7 separate regions of the Homo sapiens genome follow, and all the other regions are linked to region 1. Evidence: promoter capture Hi-C in 16 types of primary human blood cells and fetal thymus (Javierre and others, 2016). All regions are on one chromosome and are shown on one strand. Each heading gives the region's core, a stretch centred on a gene start or on the middle of the fragment in contact. The rest is flanking DNA. Distances are from core to core; before and after follow the strand shown.

Evidence for each region. The method cuts DNA at HindIII sites, captures the fragments that hold promoters and counts their contacts. A CHiCAGO score of 5 or more calls a contact.
Region 2: a fragment that was not itself captured here is called in contact with the fragment with the promoter of ORC4 in region 1 in 1 of 17 cell types (total CD4 T cells); the score reaches 5.8 in total CD4 T cells.
Region 3: a fragment that was not itself captured here is called in contact with the fragment with the promoter of ORC4 in region 1 in 3 of 17 cell types (total CD8 T cells, total B cells and monocytes); the score reaches 6.8 in total CD8 T cells.
Region 4: a fragment that was not itself captured here is called in contact with the fragment with the promoter of ORC4 in region 1 in 4 of 17 cell types (total CD8 T cells, naive CD8 T cells, total B cells and 1 more); the score reaches 7.3 in total CD8 T cells.
Region 5: a fragment that was not itself captured here is called in contact with the fragment with the promoter of ORC4 in region 1 in 2 of 17 cell types (naive CD4 T cells and naive CD8 T cells); the score reaches 7.1 in naive CD4 T cells.
Region 6: a fragment that was not itself captured here is called in contact with the fragment with the promoter of ORC4 in region 1 in 1 of 17 cell types (naive CD8 T cells); the score reaches 7.7 in naive CD8 T cells.
Region 7: a fragment that was not itself captured here is called in contact with the fragment with the promoter of ORC4 in region 1 in 1 of 17 cell types (total CD4 T cells); the score reaches 5.6 in total CD4 T cells.

What each region holds. Positions count from the first base shown.
Region 1 is chr2:148,019,245-148,022,299 of GRCh38, reverse strand. It overlaps ORC4 (origin recognition complex subunit 4), which reads left to right and starts at 1,563. Exons shown (of 14, transcript NM_181741.4): 1 at 1,563-1,667. It overlaps MBD5 (methyl-CpG binding domain protein 5), which reads right to left and starts at 1,209. Exons shown (of 14, transcript NM_001378120.1): 1 at 616-1,209. RefSeq lists enhancers at 1,042-1,141, 1,321-1,918 and a silencer at 1,492-1,651. The HindIII fragment of the contact is 3,631 bases long and covers 1-2,505 here.
Region 2 is chr2:149,013,028-149,016,082 of GRCh38, reverse strand. All of the region lies in intron 25 of KIF5C (kinesin family member 5C), which reads right to left. Among named protein-coding and RNA genes, the nearest start is that of LYPD6B, 24 kb to the left of the region's middle. The HindIII fragment of the contact is 4,420 bases long and covers 1-3,055 here.
Region 3 is chr2:148,995,433-148,998,487 of GRCh38, reverse strand. KIF5C (kinesin family member 5C) reads right to left here. Exons shown (of 26, transcript NM_004522.3): 18 at 1,148-1,224; 19 at 1-88. Among named protein-coding and RNA genes, the nearest start is that of LYPD6B, 42 kb to the left of the region's middle. The HindIII fragment of the contact is 5,790 bases long and covers 1-3,055 here.
Region 4 is chr2:148,977,514-148,980,568 of GRCh38, reverse strand. It overlaps KIF5C (kinesin family member 5C), which reads right to left. Exons shown (of 26, transcript NM_004522.3): 13 at 1,579-1,647. Among named protein-coding and RNA genes, the nearest start is that of LYPD6B, 60 kb to the left of the region's middle. The HindIII fragment of the contact is 246 bases long and covers 1,490-1,735 here.
Region 5 is chr2:148,958,403-148,961,457 of GRCh38, reverse strand. All of the region lies in intron 10 of KIF5C (kinesin family member 5C), which reads right to left. Among named protein-coding and RNA genes, the nearest start is that of KIF5C-AS1, 65 kb to the right of the region's middle. The HindIII fragment of the contact is 1,835 bases long and covers 578-2,412 here.
Region 6 is chr2:148,941,953-148,945,007 of GRCh38, reverse strand. It overlaps KIF5C (kinesin family member 5C), which reads right to left. Exons shown (of 26, transcript NM_004522.3): 6 at 3,018-3,055; 7 at 2,248-2,335. Among named protein-coding and RNA genes, the nearest start is that of KIF5C-AS1, 48 kb to the right of the region's middle. The HindIII fragment of the contact is 3,693 bases long and covers 1-3,055 here.
Region 7 is chr2:148,919,977-148,923,031 of GRCh38, reverse strand. KIF5C (kinesin family member 5C) reads right to left here. Exons shown (of 26, transcript NM_004522.3): 2 at 805-895. The region is part of intron 1 of LOC101928553 (a long non-coding RNA gene); the gene reads left to right. Among named protein-coding and RNA genes, the nearest start is that of KIF5C-AS1, 26 kb to the right of the region's middle. The HindIII fragment of the contact is 1,820 bases long and covers 554-2,373 here.

The sequences.
Region 1 (3,055 bases), core at 314-2,813:
ACTAAAAATTTGAAATTTTCCATGGAAGTCAGACAAAACGAAAAAATGGAAAATGAAACCCTTAAAGCAAAAACCAATCAAGTCTTCCAACACTGAAGTCAATATCCAAATCTCATACAGGACCAAAAAGGGGAAAACACTCAGGTCTACAAATGGATAAGCAGTTCCAATACAATCCAGATCCCGACATTTTCCCACTCAGAAACAAATGCAGTGGAGCTTTTCCTGGAGAAAAAGAGCTCTCCAATGAATTTTTTTTAAGTGACATCTAGAAAGTGTGCCTCTTTCTGTCTCTTTCCCTGGCGCCTCATTGGAGGAAGGAGGGGGTTGTTTTTGTATTCTCCCCCACTGGAGCAAGACACAATCAGATGTTAGATGGAGGAGAGAAACCACTTTTGACAACAGCAAATAAAAATAAAAGTGCCCTTCCTCCCCTGACAGGATGGGCACCCCACCTCACACACCCCTCCCTACTCCAACCCCTCCTTCACCCCCCCCAGCACCACCCCCTCCTCACCCCGGAGCTCCACTGCGTATGTGGTTTGGTGCTACTGTTGCCCCGGAGTGAAAGTCAGAGCCAGAGGAAGGCAATGAAGCCCCCACAGACACACTTACCTTTCCTGCCCCCCACTTTTGAGTGCCTTCCCTGGAGCTGTGGAGGATGACACAAAGGGTAATAAAGGGGGGGAGTGGAGGAGGAGGAGGCGAAGGAGGAGGAGGAGAGCTGGGGAAGTGGCTGCTCCTGGGTGTAGTGAGATGTCTCCAGCCAGGGCCAAGCAGCAGCAGTAGCAGCAGCAGCAGTAGCAGCAGCAGCAGCAACAGCAGCAGCAGCAGCAACAGCAGCAGCAAAGGGTCTGTGTTGCTAAGAGGCTTTTGGTTTCTTTCTCTCCTCCTCTCACGGCCAAAGAGGAGGAGGGTGGAGGGAGGGAGGCGAGTTGGAGGGGTGAGGGGGTAGGAGTCGTGGATGGGGGTTTTCGAAGAAGAAGAAACTCCTTCTCCTCTCTCAGGCTCAATCCCCCTCTCAGGGCTCAGGGCTGGAGGGTGGGGGAAGGAACTCAGCCGCCTTCCCCCCACCCCCCTGAATTCAAGGTTGAAGTGGGGTAGAATTAGTGTCCTGTCCCTTTAAAAATAGAAATAAAAGGTGCCCCCCCTCTGCCACTGCCTCTCTCTTCATCATCAGCTGCTGCTGCTGCTGGGGTCTCTCTGCTTGGGGGGGAGGGGGGGTTCGGGTAGAAGAGACGGGAGGCACTCACTGCGCATGTCCCTCTCTGACGGGTGGCTGGTTGGTTGAAGGCAGGAGGAGGGGGAGGGGAGGAAATGAGCTATTTTCCCAGAAGGCGTCGAGGCGCTAGCGACCCGGAAGACATTGTAGCGGGAGGTACAGGAGCGGGGGCGGGGAGGAGGAGGAAGTCGCTACGCTTTTAACACCCCCAGCTCCCTCCTCCTTCCTAAGGGAAAGTGGAGGAACGGAAGTGGGCGTGGACGGAGACGAAAGGAGGTCACGTGTTTGGGCGGGAGAGGGGCGGGGTGGGAGAGGTAGTGCGTGCGCGGGGCATGCCGGGAGTGGTTGTGTACGGTCCGCAGCGGCAGGTGAAGTCTAGCAGAGGACGCGGCCAGGCGATTCGGTGAAGCGATTCCTGCAGGCGTTGGTTCCCCTCTTTGACCTGGTAAATGCAGGCTTTTATGCGAGAGGTAATGGTGGGGGTAAACTTGCTGCAAACGAAGGCCAGGGGCGTCGGTGGCGCAAGGTGAATCGAAAGTGGGAGGATGGAAGGCTGTGGAGATTGGGAATTGGGAAGGGGGCAGGCTTGTATAGGCCGGGAAGGCCAGGACCAGGCGAGCTCCGTCTTGTGGCCACTCCCGCCCCGTGAGCTTGCCGAGGAATCCTTGACAAGTGCAGGGATCCTGAGTCTACCTCTGCATCGGGGTAGTAGGTGAGGAGCGTGACGGTCCGAGTGTAAGAGAGAAGGGAACTGTGAAGCCTCAGCAATTGACCCTCATGACTGCAGGACGGAGGACTTCTATCTAGGGACAGAGACAAGTCCTCTGTATGCATTTTGACCAGATGCATCACACGCGTTGCTCATATTGGATATTGCGCCCTTCATGCCTTACCTCTCAACCCTCCCTGGTATTCTGGAGTGGCTTTGGGGAAGGAGCAGGCAGGGAAGTCTTGAGTGGAGCTTCCCTCCATGTCTTGCGTTGTTGCTACAACACAAAGCCTTTGCTTTTTCTCGGAGAGGGATGTGGGATTGTGTAGTCCTTAATGTTGAGTTCTACGATTGATGAAGGAGAAGGGACGTGATCAAAGTTTCCCCTTATAGTGTAGATGAGAGTTTTAAAAGGACTGTTTTGTCAAGTTTCTTTGGTTACTATTCTTAGTTTTTGAGCCTTTGGTTTCCCAAATGCCAGCTGTTTTTGCTGAAAATAATGAATTTCTATCATAAAATTAGAATTAACTCAAAATATTTAAGAAAGGATTTATAAATTTACATTAGTAAAGCTTTTATAGTGAAACAGTGCTGGTTCTTTTTCATTGTTTTCATACAATCAATATAAAGCATCACAGTCTCAATATGTTTTGTAAAGATATTTTGAAGGAATATCATCTTTGTATGTTTTTTAAAAACCAAGAATCTAAAATTCTTCGTATTTATTATGTTGGTACTTAATTCTGTTGGGTGGGTTCTTTTTGTTTGTTTTTTGTTTTGAGACGGAGTCTCGCTCTGTCTCCCAGACGAGTGCAGTGGCGCGATCTCGGCTCACTGCAACCTCTGTCTCCTGGGTTCAAGCAGTTCTCCTGCCTCACCCTCCCGAGTAGCTGAAACTACAGGCATGTGCCACCACGCCTGGCTAATTTTTTTGTGTTTTCAGTAGGGACGGGGTTTCACCATGTTGGTCAGGCTGGTCTCGATCTCTTGACCTCAAATGATCCTCCCGCCTCGGCCTCCCAAAGTGCTGGGATTACAGGCGTGAGCCACCGCGCCCGGCCGGTGTAGGTTCTTTAGGTGTACACTATCAGTTAAAGTTACTAATTTTCCACGTTTTGCTTTCT
Region 2 (3,055 bases), core at 416-2,915, 990 kb before region 1:
TTTGAGTGATCATCGAACCACTTTCTCCCAGGTTGCTGTGTGCCTGGCATTTTTCATCACTCAGTTCTCAACTTAAATGTCACCCCCTCTTCTAAAACAGTGTTCCTATTCCATTAGCCTGTTTTTGTTTTCTTCTGAGCACTTACCACTACTTGAAGTTACCTTATTTTCTGTCCATCTTCCCCTAACAAGCATATCACTGGACAAGAACACAGCCTTCTTGTCTGATTCACTGTGAAACCAAGTACAGAGCTAGGCTCTCAATGCCTGATCCCACTTAGCCGGTAGGAAACCTAAAGCTGACAGAAATCAAGTAACTTGCCCAATGTCACATGGTTGCACTGCACTGCCCCATATGTAGCTCTGGGGTTTGAAAAAGATCATCTCCTCCTGAGGCAGCCCCCTGTGGATTTGAACCAGATAAGATCAAAGCCAGCATTATCCTGGGTTCTTTTGATTTTTGTATATTGGCATCTTCATAGGCTCTGAAACCTTGAGAATAAACCAAAATACTCATTATGGCTATAATTCTTGAACCCTGAAATGAAGCAGAAGGAAATTCCAAAGATATCCAGCTGTAAGAATATGTGCTTTGACTCCACAGGAGGGCTGGGAAGACACAATTGAGATCATTTCTACCCAGGGAAGAGATACTTCAGAATGAAAATCCCAAAGGTCAGGAAAGACTGTCTCAAAAAGGCTTTGCTCTCATCTAAGCAATGAATTCCATATTTTCAATTACTTTTCAAAAAGGATTTAGCATTTCTTTACTTTTCAATTGCAATTCCTGAATCTGTTGATTACTACCCCTTTTTAATCTCCACTGACAAATGCCCAGTCATTTCTTAAAAATAGTCATAGCTTGTAGATAAGTAAATTATATATATATGTTTTTTAGATAGGCTCTCACTTTGTCACCTAGGCTGGAGTGCAGTGGCACAATCTCGGCTCACTGCAACCTCTGCCTCCTGGGTTCAAGCAATTCTCCACTTCAACCTCCCAAGTAGCTAGGGTTACAGGTGTGCATGTCTACGCCCAGCTAATTTTTCTATTTTTAGTAGGGAAGGATGTTTCACCATGTTGGCCAGGCTGGTCTTGAACTCCTGACCTAAAGTGATCTGCCCACCTCAGCTTCCCAAAGTGCTGGGATTACAGGCATGACCCGCCATGCCCGGCCAATATTATCTTTAAAAGCCCTTATGTCAGTTCATAGCAACAACTAGGATACTCAGTTAGAAATAGGCCTTCCCTATCCAGTCGCCAGGATTTATTGCTATAGAGGAACTAAAAACCATTTAGTAACAACTATATGAATTAAAGGACACTATAAACCAACATGTATCAACTACCACCTTCTGCAGTGCTCATCTATACTAGCAGCTAACATTTTTATTGAGCAATTGTTATGGGCTTAGAAGCATGACCTCATTTAAGCCTTCTGTCAATGCCAATGACCAACATAAAAGATTTTCCCCATTTCATATATGAGGAAACAGACCTGAGTTTAAGTAACTTGAAGGAAGTGGAAGACCTAACACCTGAACCCAGGTCCCTTGTCCAATGCCAGTCCCCTCAGCCACACTGCCATCCTGAGAGCTGTAAGAGGGGGCCTGTTTATTTTGTAACCTGGTGAGAGAAGCACCTAGTTACAGAAGCTGTGTCTGAAGCTGTGTGGAGAAGGTATGTCAAGGAGGCTCTGAATTCAGATAAAACCATCAAAACCACTTGTAACACTTTGAGTAAAGAAACAAATTGCCAGCTGGGTGCAGTAGCTCACGCTTGTAATCCCAGCACTTTGGGAAGCTGAGGTGGGGGGAATCACTTGAAGTTAGGAGTTCAAGACCAGCCTGGCCAACATGGTGAAACCCTGTCTCTACTAAAAATACAAAAACTAGCTGGGCATGGTGGCACATGCCTGTAATCCCAGCTACTCGGGAGGCTGAGGCAGGAGAATCGTTTGAACCCAGGAGGCAGAGGATGCAGTGAGCCAAGATCATGCCATTGCACTCCAGCCTGGGCAACAAGAGTGAAACTCCATCTCGAAAAGATGATGATGGGTTGATGGGTGCAGCAAACCATCATGGCACATGTATACTTATGTGACAAACCTGGACATTGAGCACATGTATCCCAGAACTTAAAGTAAAATTAAAAAAAAATGCCACAATGGGTGAGGGTGGTTCTTTCACTCCGAAGGTCTTGAAAGTCTCCCCAGACCTACTGATTTTCACTCTTCTGTATGAGAAGAGGCTACACTGGTGATGAATGGCCAGCATTTGGTTGTTTGGAGCCTACATAAAATATGGGACTGGCAGACCTTTGTTGGAACCCATGAAGAAGGTGACTGTCCCACTGCACAATCTCTGGACCCCAGAATCCCTGGACCAGTATATTTAGTAAGGCCTTGCTGGGAAACACACATACACCTCTATGTGTGCTTTCATCAAATGAGGTGATGCCTATATTACATCTAGCCCAGTGCTGCAGCATATTAGGTGGTCCATAATGCACAGTATGCCAGCTGCCCACCTCAACATCCACTCTCCCTGTCCTTGCTCTAAAAGCATTACCTTTCTTTGGGGTAGTGATGTGCCCAGCTAAAAGACTACCTTTTCCAGCTAGATGTGGCCATGTGGCTCAGTGCTGTCCAGGGAAAGGGAGGCATCAGCATTGCATGGGGCTTCAGGAAGGCTACTTAAAGGAGATTCATTCAGGACGGCTGCTTTTGCCTCTTCTCTGCTTCCTCTCTGGTTGCTAAAGTTGGAATGTAGGCATGATGGCTGAAACTGAAGTCATTTGGTGACCTTGAGCTGGCCTTGAGTTCAGGAGGCAGGCACGTGCTTAACCTAGTTAAGAGGCTAGGTTTCTGTTTTCACTGTGGAGATTCTTAACTACTGATGTACCACCTTCAAATTTCCCTTACATAAGACAGACGTAAACCGCCATCCTGTATAAACCATGGAGAGTTTTCAAACTTCGATGAATATCAGAATCACCTGGAGTACTTGGTTAAAAAGACAAACAAAGCCCAGGCCCTTCCTCTTCTAAGGAGCCT
Region 3 (3,055 bases), core at 398-2,897, 980 kb before region 1:
TCTGCTTCTCCTCAATTTCGTCTCGGAGTCTGGACAGCTGCTTCTGGTGAGCTTCCCGGTGGCTCTCCATCTGCTGCTCCAGCGCCTTCTGCATCCCAGGCCAAGAGAAACATGTCATCTACTCGTTGGCACTCAGCCCACTCTGTGACAAGCCCTGGATCTGGACCTACCTCCTTCCCTGTGTCCCTCAGATGTCAGATCCCAAAACTGGGGGCATTTCTGGCTGTTTTGCCCCCAGGACCCGGCCTTGCTTTATTGGGATAACAAAACCCAAGATCTGTTATCAAACCAAGTTGGCCCTAGAAGCCAATTAGCCCACCAACTAAATAAAAAGTGTTCCCTTGACCTTTTACAGCCCAGCCTGAGCTTCTCCAGCCAGGTCAGTCAGAGGGCACCAACCTCTCCCTATCCACGTAACCTCCAGATAAGCCTGTAACCTGTGTGAGCTGCACTCCCTCACATGTAAAACTGAGATAAAAGCCCCTGCCCTGCCCACTGCACAGATTTATGATGATGTCCAAAGGAGACCTTTTGGCAACAGCACTCTGAAAACAGGAAAGGGACTCCCACGACGCATGATTTTATTCTGCTGGCTGGAGCAAGGGCATGCCGTGGACGTCTTTAACTGTGGACCTTGACTCAATGAGGCTCATAGTTTGCCTACAACTAATCAAAATCCTACATCTTCTCCTGTCTCATTTTATTCACCTAAAAGTCTTACTCCACAATCAATTTTCCTTTACAGTTTAAAATGTGACCAAAAGAAAAATCTCTATGTTTGAGATAGAAACTCAAATTTGGTGTGTTCTGCGTAAAGGTTGGAGGAAGAAATCCTTAGAAGTTAACTCCGACAAAAGAGCCCATGCAGTGATTGGGGGTGCTACCCTTTCCCTCTTCATCAGGAATGGTGAAGACAAAGGTATTAACGCAACTTAACCATTCTCTACAGACATCTTGGGGTTTCTGGACTTGTTCATTTCTAAGCCAGGCTATACTCTGAGATCGACTCTGAATGCCCAACAACAGCCCCTCCCCTGTCCCTTGCCATATACGGATCTGAAGGTGACAGATTTTCCTAGAACAAGCATTTCCAATCCAAATGCATCAAATGCACACTGGGCTTGATGGAAGGGGCAGCCACACACACCTTCATTTCTTCAGCATCCTGCAACCGCGTCAGATGTTCCTTCTCCTTATCCTGGAAGCTGACTTCGTGCATTTTTTCTGTTTTGAATTTTAAATGATGATTTAAGACTTAACTGGTGGGACTCACACCCAAAAGCAAAAATTAAAAAACAAAAAGCAAGAAAAATGGCAACAGAGTGAAACATCAGCTTATATCAGCAATTACAACCATGGCATAAAGGAACAGGCAAGGACTTCTGGCTAAAGCCAAGGCTGCCCCCTCCTGAAGCATTCCTTCCACGGGGGAGCGCGACAACTGCAGGGGACAATGCTTACTGGGGGACAATGCTCACTGGGGGCGGCCCTCCTAGGACTGCACTCTGGCTTTATGTCACCGCACACCTGGGAGGGCTTGTTTCCCACCTGGTCTCTGTGAGCAGCCCAAGGTCATGTGCATGAACGGGCCTTACAGATGATAAAGCCCTCTGTGACTGTTAGGTGGCCTGTGGACCCATGCCATGATGGGAGTTCTAGGAAGACCTAATTTACCTCCCATGGGTAGGCGTTTATTCTCTAAGAATCTGGGGCAGGAAAACATACTCTGTTTCCAGGATGGGAACACGGGAAACAGAAAGATAGCATAACATTTTTGAGATTAAACCAGAAGGCCCCATGTTTGGGGCAGGGCTGCAGTGTGGCACTCCTGTCTCAGCATATGCTTGGTCGATGGTGCTCCCTAAATGCCAGCCAGGTGCAATGGGCAGCCCCAGCTGGGGAGCTGGGGTGCCAGGGGGCAGAGTGCTTTACGACAGTGACATTCAATTCATTATTTCTCTCTAGTCTGTTCCACTTCAGGTTTTCTTGCCTCTATTTTATTTCAACTCAGTGGCCCCACTGCAGGAACCACCGGATGCAAGAGAGAAACATGATTTTCCATGTGCAGTTTTGATGGTGCACCTACTCCTAACATGCCATGTGTTACCACACAAAGAACATGTTACAAGGTTAGAGCAGAGAGTGGGTATGTTCTTTCTTTTTAAATTTGCCTTGGCGTCTGACACAAATTGCATTTACTGAGCAAACTGTAAAACAACAATAAAGGATATAAATACTGATAACAGCATCACCAATCCCAACTACCCTATCACAACCACTTTTATCTTAAATATGAATTTTTAGGAACACAAGCATCCATTCACTTTTTTTTCAAGATGGAGTCTTGTTCTGTCGCCCAGGCTGGAGTGCAGTGCCACGATATCGGCTCATTACAACCTCCGCCTCCTGGATTCAAGCAATTCTCCTTCCTCAGCCTCCTGAGTAGCTGGGATTACAGGCGTGTGCCACCACACCCTGCTAATTTTTGTATTTTTAGTAGAGACAGGGTTTCACCATGTTGGCCAGGCTGGTCTCGAACTCCTGACCTCGTGATCCGCCCGCCTCAGCCTCGCAAAGTGCTGGGATTACAGGCGTGAGCCACCGTGCCCAGCTGCATCCATTCATTTTTAATAGTTATAACCATAGTAAGAATACAATGATATATTGTGATTTTCACCTAACATTGCATCATAAACATTGCTGCACACCTTCATGTATTTCATGTGAAGAAAAAGTTCTATTAAATAACACGCCATAGTGTATTAACTATTAGACATTTAGATGGCTTCCTCTTTTTTGCTGATCTAAAATTCTGCAATGAATATCTGAGGTGTGATGATCAAAAGGTATGAAAAATGTTACAGTTATTAATATGTATTTTCAAATGGCTTTCTGAGAAAATTCTAACAATTTTCATTGCAACCCATAATATATATGTTCTAGTTTCACATTGCATGGCACATACATTCTTAATCCTGTTCTACTTTCTGCATTTCTAGACCCTTCTCTTGAATTTCTGCTTATATTCATTAATATTTATGAAGTGCTTCCTATG
Region 4 (3,055 bases), core at 363-2,862, 960 kb before region 1:
ACTAAAACAGTATACAACAGTGGTCAGTCACCTTTTTTTTAACATCCATCATGAAGATATAGAAGGATGTACCCCAAACAGTATCTTTAGTTAAAAGCGAATGTCTGGGCTTGCCGACGCTCTCATTATCTTTGTTCCTAAGTTGATTTTCCTATATTGAACAGATACTGCCTTGATAGTATAGAAAAAGAAAAATGTTAAGGAGTTTTAACAGTAACAAGAAGTAAAGTTTATCCCAGGCAGCTGTGCCAATGTGGGTGAAACTGGAGTAGAATGGGAGGTAGAGGGCAGGAAACTCAAGCAAATGGAAGGCCTCGACTATAGCTAAGAGAGAGAGATCAACGAAATATGGTTCACCTGATTACAAAAGTGTAGATTATCTCCCTACCAAGGGAAGTGTTTGGGCAGGGGAGGTAATCATTGTCCTAAAGAGATGAAAGGGAACAAAGAGGAAGGAAATGGTTACAGAGTCCTTTATGCCTACAGAGGCCTGGGATTGAGGACAGAAACCCAGGCACCTGCTGTCATTGCACAGTGGGATCCAATCCATAGCATTTCAGCAACGAAGCAGAAAGCAACTTAAAGCACAAAAGAAAACAACACTTAAACGGTCCTCAGCAAGGGAATTATTAATTGTGCATGTTTGATAAGTTGGCTGGCTATCCTTTGCTTAGGTTCTTGTTTGTAAAATACTTGGCAACACACAATGTAGTAAAAACACTTGCTGAAGAACTGAATGCCTTTGGGGAGAGACTGAAAACAATTTGCCTCCTTTTTAGTGTATCAAACATGCTGACGCAGTACTCGGGCCCCGTTCTCTTTGCCTTCCCCTCCTCTACCTTCTAGTTTTGTTTTTGTTTGTGTATCCCTACAGGACAGCAGGAGAACATGGTGTATATCAAAGATCTGAGCAAGCTGATTGCAAAACTGAAGTAGGACTCAAACAACAGGTCACAGCATTGCTGGGTATTAGGAGGCAGAATCATCCTTGCCCAAGGCCAGGTGCAGTGGCTCACACCTGTAATCCCAGTGCTTTGGGAGCCAAGGCAGGAGCCAAGCCAGAGGCCGGGAGTTCAAGATCACCCTGACCAACATAGAGAAACTCTGTCTCAAAATATTAAAAAATTAGCTAGGTATGGTGGCACATTCTTGTAGTCTTAGCTACTTGAGAGTCTTAGGCGGGAAGATCATTTGAGCTCTGGAGGTTGCAGTGAGCCATGATTGCACCACTGCATTCCAGCCTGGACAACAGAGAGACCCTGTCTCAAAAAAATAAAAATAAAAAAGGATCATCCTTGCTTGATCACCCAACCAAAGGTCTCTGCCCTTCCAGAACGAACTGTAGCCACTGGCTACTCAATCTCAAAACATCAGGGGTTTTTGAAAGTCAGACATTTATTTTCTAAATTCAGTGATAATCAGCTTGTAAGAGGCAGTGAAGGGACATCTACCAAGAAATTTCCACATGATTCTGTAATTATGAAAAGCTTCTATGCCAATTAAATTCCTGGAACAAACATCAACAACAAAGAGTAATAGAAGAACTTTGTGGAAAAAAAAATATATTGCATTCTTTACCTCATCCTGATCCAACATCTGTTGCTTCAGCTTTTCAGCCAGCTGGCTCTGCTGGTTAATTTCATCATCCTGAAACGAAACATCATGTTTGTTTTTTTGGTTAGTTATGTCATTTTTGATATCCCAGTCTCCCAGTGACAGGCAGCTACCATAAGCTTGCTGATAAGAAGGAAGGAATAGTGTGGTGTTACTGCACAGAAAACAGACAGATTCCGAGATCTCATTCAGTTAAAATACCTCCTCACCCACCTTTCTCAGCAGATGAAACAGCTGACTATTCTGGAAATATAATATCCTGCACATTCAACCCAATTCCTGCTCATTGAGAAATCAGAGATCTACGGTTTGGGAACTGAAAGGGACGTTAGAGATATCCCTCCCAATTCAAAGATGCTAACAGTGAAATTCCTAATTCAAAAAATAAAGGAGTGAATTTCTACCTAGCTGCACTGTCATATGTTATTATCCCAAATCTTGTCAAATGCATCAGTAAGCAGGAGTGCTGCCACCAGATCGGCAGGGAGAGCCAATGTTTCCACTTCAAACCTCTCAGACCAGAGAAAAATGAACTGGAGATTTGGCATTGGAAGACCTCCCTCTCGATTGGAAGTTAATTTTCTTAACAGTTAAAAAAAAAAAAAAAAAAAAAAAAAAAACCTCAGGGCAGCTGAGGGACAGAAGCATTCATGCTTACTTTCTGGGCTGTCACTGAAGTGGGAAAGGCAAATTCGCTCTTCTCACTCTTTTTCTGCCACTAGGTGTTGCTGCCACAAAAGCAAGGGTATTCGCTGCCCACCTCTCCCCACCTCCCCTTAGACTCAGTCCACCCCCAGTGCAGGCAAAGCAGCAGGCAGATGATGCCTAACTACATAAAAAACACAGTCTTCACTGCATTATTTTCACGACTTCAAATAAAATTTGAAACATAGCCTGTGAAGATGACAACCTGGCTTCTAGGGTCTAAACACCAAACAGAGTCAGATTCAATTGAGCATCCTTGGGCACTTCTTCGTGCCAGGTCCTGTCTAGGTGTTTTCATCAGCAGCCCAGAAAAACACACCCTGTACTGTGCCTTTTGCCTTTTCCAGGGGTGAAATCTAACCCAAACTTAAGGGCCTGGGTCACAGAACCTCAATGTTCCACGGGATATTCCCCAGCCTGTTTGGTGATATCTATGCATACATTTGAATCATGTTAATTTAATGTCACAAACTAATGCTTTCCATGGAGAAAGAAAATTCTAAAATCAGCCATACAGGATCTGAATCTCCTTGTCCTTTATGTAGACCATCATTTGGCTTTGCTTTTCTACTTAAAGAGATCCTGTTTCTACTGAACCCTTTACACCAATGTTTCTTTAATGGTTCTATTTTCCTGCACAAATCATATTAGGGAAATTATACCAGAATGAAACCTCCAAAAACTGGCACTTCTACAACTAGAAGACTATTTTGTAGATATATTTTCTCTTCTACTT
Region 5 (3,055 bases), core at 246-2,745, 940 kb before region 1:
ATAGAATCAATTATTTCTCTTCCTCACCTGTGGTACCCAAAACCACCCCTGATGTATTTATCACATCAACACATGCCTCATAGGTCAGGTGGGTCCCACAGCTGAGTAAGGCTGGCCAGAGGACACCATGGCTCCCTGCTGAGCACACACCCGCCCCCCCCATCACAGCCCGTCATCACCATGCGGTGAGGAGGCCCCACAGTATTCAGATCATCCTATTTTCCAAGAAAAATCAGAAACTGTTTTTTCTTTAATTTGTGTCTCCCAGTTTTAAACTATTTATAAAAACAATGTGTGGGACAAACAAACATGCCTAATGGCCACCATTTTGCCACTTCCAGTATAAGAGATGATGCGATCTCTGGGGCACATGGCCTGGGGGGTTGAGATGCCACAGGGATGTACCTGGAGAGTAACCCAAAGGGGCAACTGTGGAGAGCAAATCAGTAGCTGCACCAAGTGATACCAAAAACAAAAGCCATGACTCAGCTCAGCATGCACAGAAACGAACACCTAAGTGGCCTTGTCCAATTAAAAAGGAAACTCCACTTAGGCTTACTTTCAAGAAGGTAAAGCTTCATTAAAAAATATGTGATATCCTGTTTTATTTGCTATTGACTTTTTCATTTTGAACTTCCAACAGTTCTTACACCGTCATATTTGCCAGCACAATCTGATTTGTGATTCGGGTTAATTACCGTTGTCAGCAAATGACATCCTGATTTCTATTTCAGTGCAAGAAATTCAGCAGTCCTCACCAGCACTACAGATGTCATTCCAAAAATTCATTGCTAAAGCAGACAACTAAATAACCCAACTGTCAAAAGAGGAGTTTAACAACTTCAATGTAAGACTCCATTTAAGAATTAGGATAACTCTCTCTTGTTCACTGTAGCTTGAGGCTGCAATCCCTAGAAGTGCTTTGAGTCTAATTTTTCAAATAACAGCAATTTTATTACTACTTTAAAGTCTGGTCCTGTTTGACACTCTCACCTCTCCTCCTGACATCCTCAGGCAGTACTGTGGATGCTTCTCAGATGCAAGCACAAACATTACAAGCATCCATTATCAACTTAGTAAGGCAAAAAGTGAAAAATAACTCATGGCTAAAATGCTTATGGACACTTAAGGGCACACTTCAAGGCTACTAATCTTACTTTTTAAATCATAAAGAGTCCCTTGATAACTTCACATGATACCAGAAAGAGAAAGCTAAAGCCTCTATGCTATACTCAGGCAGGTTTAGCCAGAGGCATATTTTGTGAGCAGACTCAGCAAGGTTATCACCATTGGTGTAACTGGTCCTCATTCTCAAAATACTTTTAACAATTGCCTAGGAAATCCCCACTTCTGTAGTAATCGGGGTCCTGGAAGGAAACAGACCACCTGCTCAAATTGCATGATTTGAAGAGTGCTTAACAAAGGTTTGGAAAGGTGTTGGGAAATAACAAGGGTTAATGTGGTACCCACATTAGGGACTGGGGAGCCATTACTACCCTTAAGCTGAAGGGGAGCCAGAGAGAGAAGGCTAGAAGGAAAAGATTGCCTGGTAGGTATGAATTGTCACAGCCATTGGTAGGGACACAGCCAACCCAAAATGATCTGGCAGGGAAGAAGCCAGGAAATAAATACCCGGACCTCACGCTCTTCTCTCCTTCTGATCGCCTGCCTGTGTTCCTTCCCCACGGGTGTAACATAACTGGAAGCCAGAGGAAAAGGAGCCCATTGCATGAGCCCAAACCAGTCACCCTCCTAAGTCACAAAGCAGGACAGAGATGGTGCAGAAAAGATCCAGAGGAGTAGCTAAAGATGCGCAACCCAACTTCCATTTGGAACTCAAATAACAGTGGGAATCTGTGTCTCACACTGGAGCCCGAGACTTCATTCAGCCCAAATGGGGCAAGCGGGGCCTTCACATCCACTAAAGGTAGAATATGAAAAAATCAGCTTACACTGAGAGAGAAAGATGTTAATTCTCCTAAAATTGCTCTAGAGAATTAAAGTAATCCCCACCTTCCCCCAAAAAAACCCTAAGGGGTTTGTGTATGTGTATAGAAATTGGCAAGCTGATTCTGAAATTTATAATAGAAATGAAAAAAAAAAGAATAGCAAGGACAGTTCTGAAGATCAAAGTTAGAGGATTGAACATCATCACTTTCTTATAAAGTAAAACTGATCAAATTGTCAGAAATCTTGGAATAAAAACAGAATAAATTGTCCAGAAACAGGCACTCAGATGACAGTCATCTGACTTATGACAAAAGTGTCCATAGAGAAGAGTGGAAAGGGCAGTCCTTTCAATACATGGCACTGAGGGGAAGTGGAACTTTATTCCTCACCCCCAATACCATGTAAAAAATTCTGTTCCAGAGAGATCCCAGACATAAATGTGAAAAGTAAAACAATAAAGCTTCCACAGAAAATATAGGACAGTATCTTCAAGACCTTGGGGTAGGCAAAGTTTTTTTTTTTTTGAGACAGAGTCTCACTCTGTTGCCCAGGCTGGAGTGCAGTGGCACAATCTCGGCTCACTGCAACCTCTGCCTCCCGGGTTCAAGTGATTCTCCTGCCTCAGCCTCCCGAGTAGCTGGGACTACAGGCGCCCGCCACCACGCCCAGCTAATTTTTTTGTATTTTTAGTAGAGACAGGGTTTCACCATGTTGGCCAGGCTGGTCTCAAAATCCTGACCTCTGGTGATCCGCCTACCTCAACCTCCCAAAGTGCTGGGATTGCAGGCATGAGCCACCATGCCTGGCCAAAGATTTCTTAAATAGAACATAAAAGAAAAAATAAATTTGACTTCATTAAAATTAAAAACTTGTCTTCATTAGAAGCCACCATTAAGACAGTTAAAAGGCAAGTTACAAGGTGGGAGAAGATATATAAAATACATATACCTGACAAAGGACTTACCCAAAATAACTGCTTTAAATCAATAAGAAAAAACTGGGCAAAGACTTGGAACAGGCACTTTATAAAAGAAGTGCCAATAAAACACCTCCTGAAAAGGTGTTTAACATCATTAGCCTTCAGGGAATGCAAATTAAAACTACA
Region 6 (3,055 bases), core at 383-2,882, 920 kb before region 1:
AACAACAAATTAACCTGATTAAAAAATAAATACAGACCTTGAATAGACATTCCTCAAAGAAGATATACAAATGGCCTATAAGCACATGAAAAGATGCTGAACATCACTAATCATTAGGGAAATGCAAATCAAAACCACAATGAAACAGCACTTCACACCATTTGGATGGCTATTATAAAAATAATAACAATAACAAGTGGCAAGGATATAGAGAAATGGAAACTCTGATGTACTGCTGTTAGGAATAGAAAATGGTACAGCTGCTATAGAAAATCGTAATAATAGCAAATAGTAGCGGTTCCTCAAGAAATTGAAAGTAGAATTACCATGAGATCCGAAAATTCCACTTCTGCATATATACTCAAAAGAATTGAAATCAAGGACTCAAATAGATGTTTGCACACCTATGTTCATAACAGCATTATTCACAACTGCCAAAATGTGGAAGCCACCCAAGCGTCCATTAATGGTTAAACGAATTTTTTAAATGTTGTATATACATACAATGGAATATTGTTCAGCCTTAAAAAGGAAGGACACTTGCTACCACATGGATGAAACTTGAAGACATTATGCTAAGTGAAATAAGTCACAAAAGGACAAACACTTTATGATTCCACTTACATGAGGTACCTAGAGCAGTCAAATTCATAGAGATAAAGTAGGTTGAGCAAGAGGAGAATAAAGAATTGGTGTTTATTGGGTACAGAGTTTTGGTTGGAGAAGATAAAGTTCTAGAGATGGAAGGTGGTGACATTGCACACATTGTGAAGGTACTTAACATCACATAAATGCACACTTTAAAATGGTTAAGATGGCAAATTTCATATTAAGTATATTTTATTGCAATAATAAAGAAAAACCTTACCAGAATGATAAGAATAATAGCAATTTTTTTTTAGATTAGCAGTTCCAAACCAAGGCATCAAAATGGATTATCAGGTATGCCATAAATAATTTGTGATTAAAAACAGCTTCAGAAACAGAGTGAATAACGTAAATGAGAGATGCTACTACTATAAGAATATCTGTCTTACATTCTTTCAGGTATGTGTGCATGTTTTAAGCAAGAGAAAAAGAAGTGGAGCTTGACCAACATTTCATCCAGGAATAGGCTCACCTATGAAAGTTGCTATATACATGAATATCATCTGATACATTGCTCAGATAGAGAAAATGTTGAGAATTACAGTTCTGGACCACAGAATCAGAGAGTCTTGGGTAGAAGAGACTTAAAGAGCCTAGACCAGTCAGGAAACCAATGCCTGAATCTCTTTTACAACATAACAGTGAACTCACTACCTCTCTAGGTAGCAGGCAGCACTTGGGGCAGCTATAAGGGTTGGAGAGTTCTCCTCACAGGGGTCGAAATCTGCCTCCCTAGAGCTCCAACAATCATGGGTATTCTAAGTATTGAGATGGAACAGAACAAGCTGACCCTCTTTCTTAGTGTCAGCACCTTCAACACGGTAAGATATATTACATTGTCCACACACCCTCCTCCAGATTTTTTTCCCTCATGCAAGCTATAAACCCTTAGTTCTCTCAGCTTCTGTTCATATGAACTCACTGTCATTTGTCCACATCCCTCTTAATAAGATAGACAACTGTCTTTTTTCACGGATCCTCTGCTGCCCAAATCCCATATGCACTGCTTCCCTGAGATGCAATGAACATACTGAGGAAGGAACTGCAGAGCCAATGAGCCGATCTGAATGTGTCTGCTAGTAACATATCGGAAGGCTTTCCCTAAAGCTCCTGGCTCTGCTTTCTGACTTCCTTCTTCCCTTTCTTTTTCTTTTTTACAGAAGGCAGAAATCCAACATGGTTTATTTCCATGTGTGTGACTGCAACATATTATAGAATTTGTTGGTTTGGAACTTTTTTTTAACCTGAACAATAACATGATCAAAATAAATAAACTGATGAGCTTACTCTTTCCCTCCCTTTGGTTGGCTGGTTGTTTATTTTTCCTAATGTTCAGGCTTAGGCTGTTATCAGGGTCCAGTAAGTCTCACCCAATATCTCCAAGACCTCAGAGTCCTGTGGACAGCAGAAGGCACCCTTTCCCATGACTGCCTAGACATACTCATAGCACACATACCCTGGCGTCTGTGTCCGAGCACTGCTCTTTAATCACCTTCCCATGCATTCTTTCATTTGTACCTAATTCCCCACCCCCCTCGGTTGGTGGGCAGATATCTGTCTCCCAAGCTGCAGGGGAGGAAACACCCCCACCATGCTTACTTGTCACAGCCACGTGTCGGTTTGCTTTGCCTTCATCTATTACATCCATGACTTCCTCAGGGCTCGACACAAACCGCTCAGTGCACCCCTGGAAGAGAATCAGTTCAGGTTCACCACTGAAAGAGTTGAAAAGCAACAATATTTTGAAAGGCTGAAACATTTTCCTGTTTATCTTCTAGAGGTGCAGATAAATAGAAAGGCTGAAATATCGATCCAACAACTTTTCCTCCTTGCCCAGGGCTTGAATTCTACATTAAAGAGAAGTCTGAGCAAGCCCTAGGAAATATAGACGTAAACCAAAAAAAGAACTGTCAAATTTTCCTAGGTTTTTGAGTACATATTCATACTGAACAGCAACACTTTAAGAAGACAGAAAATCAAAGAAGAAAATCAATGAGAGAAGAAGAAATGGATGAAGTTTTGCTTTGCCTTCTATCTTTATTTATTTATGATCATGGCCACCAATATTAGCTACTTTGATGTTCCACAGATAATGCTATAATAGGCGTTACTGCAAAGTAAAAACAGTTGCACTCAATATCAAAATCTCTTTAAATGTGAACAATATTAAATAATAATGTCATAAAGGAAAGATACAATTGAAGAAAGTAAATGTCAATTTTTAAAACCAGATGAATATTAAATATAAGGAGCCTGAATAAATGCCTATATGCTCTTTACAGATAATATTCTGCACATCTTATGTAATAATTATTATGACAGAGACTGGAGAGAAATTAATTGCATCACCAATCAAATCTTCCTCATACCTTTACATACGGGACTCTGTTTTTATCTTCATGAACAG
Region 7 (3,055 bases), core at 214-2,713, 900 kb before region 1:
TGCCCCCCAGCTCTGTCCAGATGGCAAGCCTGCCAATGCAAGCTTCAACCTGCCCCTGATTTGAAAGGACAAGGTAGAGCAATGTGCAAATTGCTTCATCTCCCTGCTGCTATTTTGACATGAATCCTCCAGGGCCAATGCCAGTCCTAGAGAAAAGGACTGATCTCTAAGATGTAAATGTAGGCTTGAGGCTACCTGTTTGGAGGAATAAATGTCAGGATCTGGGTGGGATGGTTGAAAATGGGTTAGGAGAAAGCATAATTAAGGAATGCTGAATGGCAAGACCAGCTCAATAACCAACACGGTAATGTGATTTTATGACACTGTAGAAAATTTCTAAATGGCAAAAATTTTCCATATTTAAGGCTTCTTGCTGAGAGATATTAGTAAAAGGGAGACAGACACACAGAATAAATCAACCAAAGATGTACAACTGGAGCATCAGGAATATATATTTTCTCCTTCAAAGGAAAAAGGAGGTTCCATACCTGCAGCCAGTGTTTTAAAATTATTACAGAAATAGTGTGAACACAGCTTACCTTGCTTTTAAGCTTTTGGGTGACAAAATAAAAAAGGTGGCAAAAGAAATAAAGACATGTCCTTGAAAAGGGAGAATAGAGAGATTAAATAATTTGCCTGACATCATAGCAAATCAGGGCTAGAACCGAGGCTATAGAATTCAGTGTTTCCAATTAGCAGGCCTCTGCTTACAGTCAAGGCACATTGATTCCTAGGCTGCAAATATCACTTAATGCTTTCAATTACTCTGAATGGCCCAGGAGGAAATAAAGAAATAGCACTTACCTTTGACAATTTGCTTCGCACATGCATTGTAAACCTGCTCTTGGGTCGTGTTGGGAGGTAGCACTCTGTCGAAGACATATGGCTTCCCTTGCTAAAAAAGAAAGACAAAGGGAAGAAAAAGGTGGAAAAAACACATTAGATGTTTAGGAATAAAAAATCGCAAACATTAGTAGCTAGGCCATAGGCACTAAGTCACCAACCCTGTTCTTTAAGGCAGTTCATTACCAAGAGCAGGGAATTTTTACAGCATAAACCACACATGCATTGTGTATATGTGCACTGTATGTTGAGAATCTGAGATTTTAAAAAAATTTAAATTGAACCACTTTTTAAATGAAGGGTAGGTTGAGACTCATTCATTCATTCAAACAAATATTTACTGAGCACTTACACAGAGCCTGGCACTGGGCTAGATGCTGAAAAAAAAAATCACAAAACAGTCTTGCTCTTGTGAATCATTCAATTAAGTTGAGCAGATAGCTAATAAGCAAGAAAGCAAACACATAGGAAAACGCAAAATGCCTAGGTTTAAAACAGTGGGACAGAGGGAATGCTAGAGAGGGCAAGGAAAGCCTGGTGAAGAAGGACCACTTAAGTGTATCTTTACAGGATCGGGAAGATGGAGGCTCCTGAAGAGCTGTAGAAGCGCATCCTAGGCAGAAGCCCAGCAGACAGCAAAGGGCCTGGTTTGTTCAAGGAACTGGAGGGCAAGAAAATCAGGAGCCAATTCATGCAGGGCACAGTTAGCCAAGGTGATGTGCTTAAATGTTAGCCAATGGGAAGATGGGACAAACAGATTTAAGTAGCTGCTCTTATTAGAAAGATATTATTGCTTTGTGTCCAAAAGAATTCCTGTGTTTTCTTTCTCATGCACAAGTGATGTTTTAACTGGGTTGAGGCTTCCAAGACAAAGAGAGCCCTTCTGTAGAGTAAATCAAGAGATTTCCCCAGGTGTGTGGTCTTGGGATTTGGTTTGATGCTCAAATGTGTGTGTTTCAAGGAAATAACTAGTAGAGGTAAGGGAAGAAACTCCACCGTGCATTATATGTGCCCTGACGCCCAATCACTGTATGCTTAATAAGGAGTTACTGGGCATTTAGGTGCCAGGCACAGTGCTGAGTGCTGGGGAAGTGGTGGGTGGGACAGACACAGCCCCTTCCCTAGGAGAACCCATCCTGAGGGCACCTCTTCTCTACCACCACCGCCCAGGCAGGAGGCAATCATGCTCACCCTCTTCCACAGCCGGACTCACTCAGGAGGCCCTTCATCTTCATGTTCCCCACATAGCAGAGGGGAGGGCAGAAGATGAGAGGGAGGAGAGAGCAGAGCCAAGAGCCTCCTTTTCTCCCACTGTGCCCCTCCTATGTGTGGCTCTGGACACCAGGAACCACCCAAGGACAGTGGGACTCCTCGAAAAGATAATTGCTCATGAGGGATCCAAGAGCAAGGCTTGTTACATCCTATAACCTTCACACAAAGTAAGTACACAGCTGTCAGAATGGCTTAATGTTCTACTTATTTATTACTTGGGTAGAGCTGAACTGGAGATAAAATCCTAGCCCTTAAGCTTTACTCTTTGAAAACTGGATAGCACCAGCCAGGTAAAGGAGCTACTTCCATTTGGTCTTAGAGAAATAGGGAATTTTCAGTTACTATAAAATTTTGTTTTGATGCAAAGCAGCAGAACCAGAGTCATTCTGCTAAAATTATAGAAATAGAACATTTTCTGATGTTTTGTTTGCAGTAAGTTTCCTTCAGTTAGTGAATCAAGGATTTGGTTGAATAACCAATAGACTATTCCTCACCACAGTCTATTGCCAACTATCAGCCTACTACATGCTTATTAAGCTTTATCTATTTGTAAAATTCAACTAAATGTCAGTAAGGTAAAAGGTAAGAGTAAATATTTGCAGAGTTTGTCTGGGTATTTGTTATCAATTGAACTTTCTGGAACAAAAATGTAGCTTTGCTTAATTTAAAACAAATCCCCTATTTATACAAACAATGAGAATCACCAAAGTAAAGCGTCTTGTTTACAGCTTGATCCTGCTTTGGGTTTTAGAGAAAATACACTTAATACAGCAGACAAAATGACCTGTTAAATTATAGCACATGGTACAAAAAAAAAAGGACTCCTCAGTTTTGCCCTTCTGTTTAAAATGTTTATTAGAATGCATTATGCCTTCACTTTAAGAGAAGTAGAGAGCAAGAAATCTCTATTCCTCATTTAAATAACATAATTTATCAAATG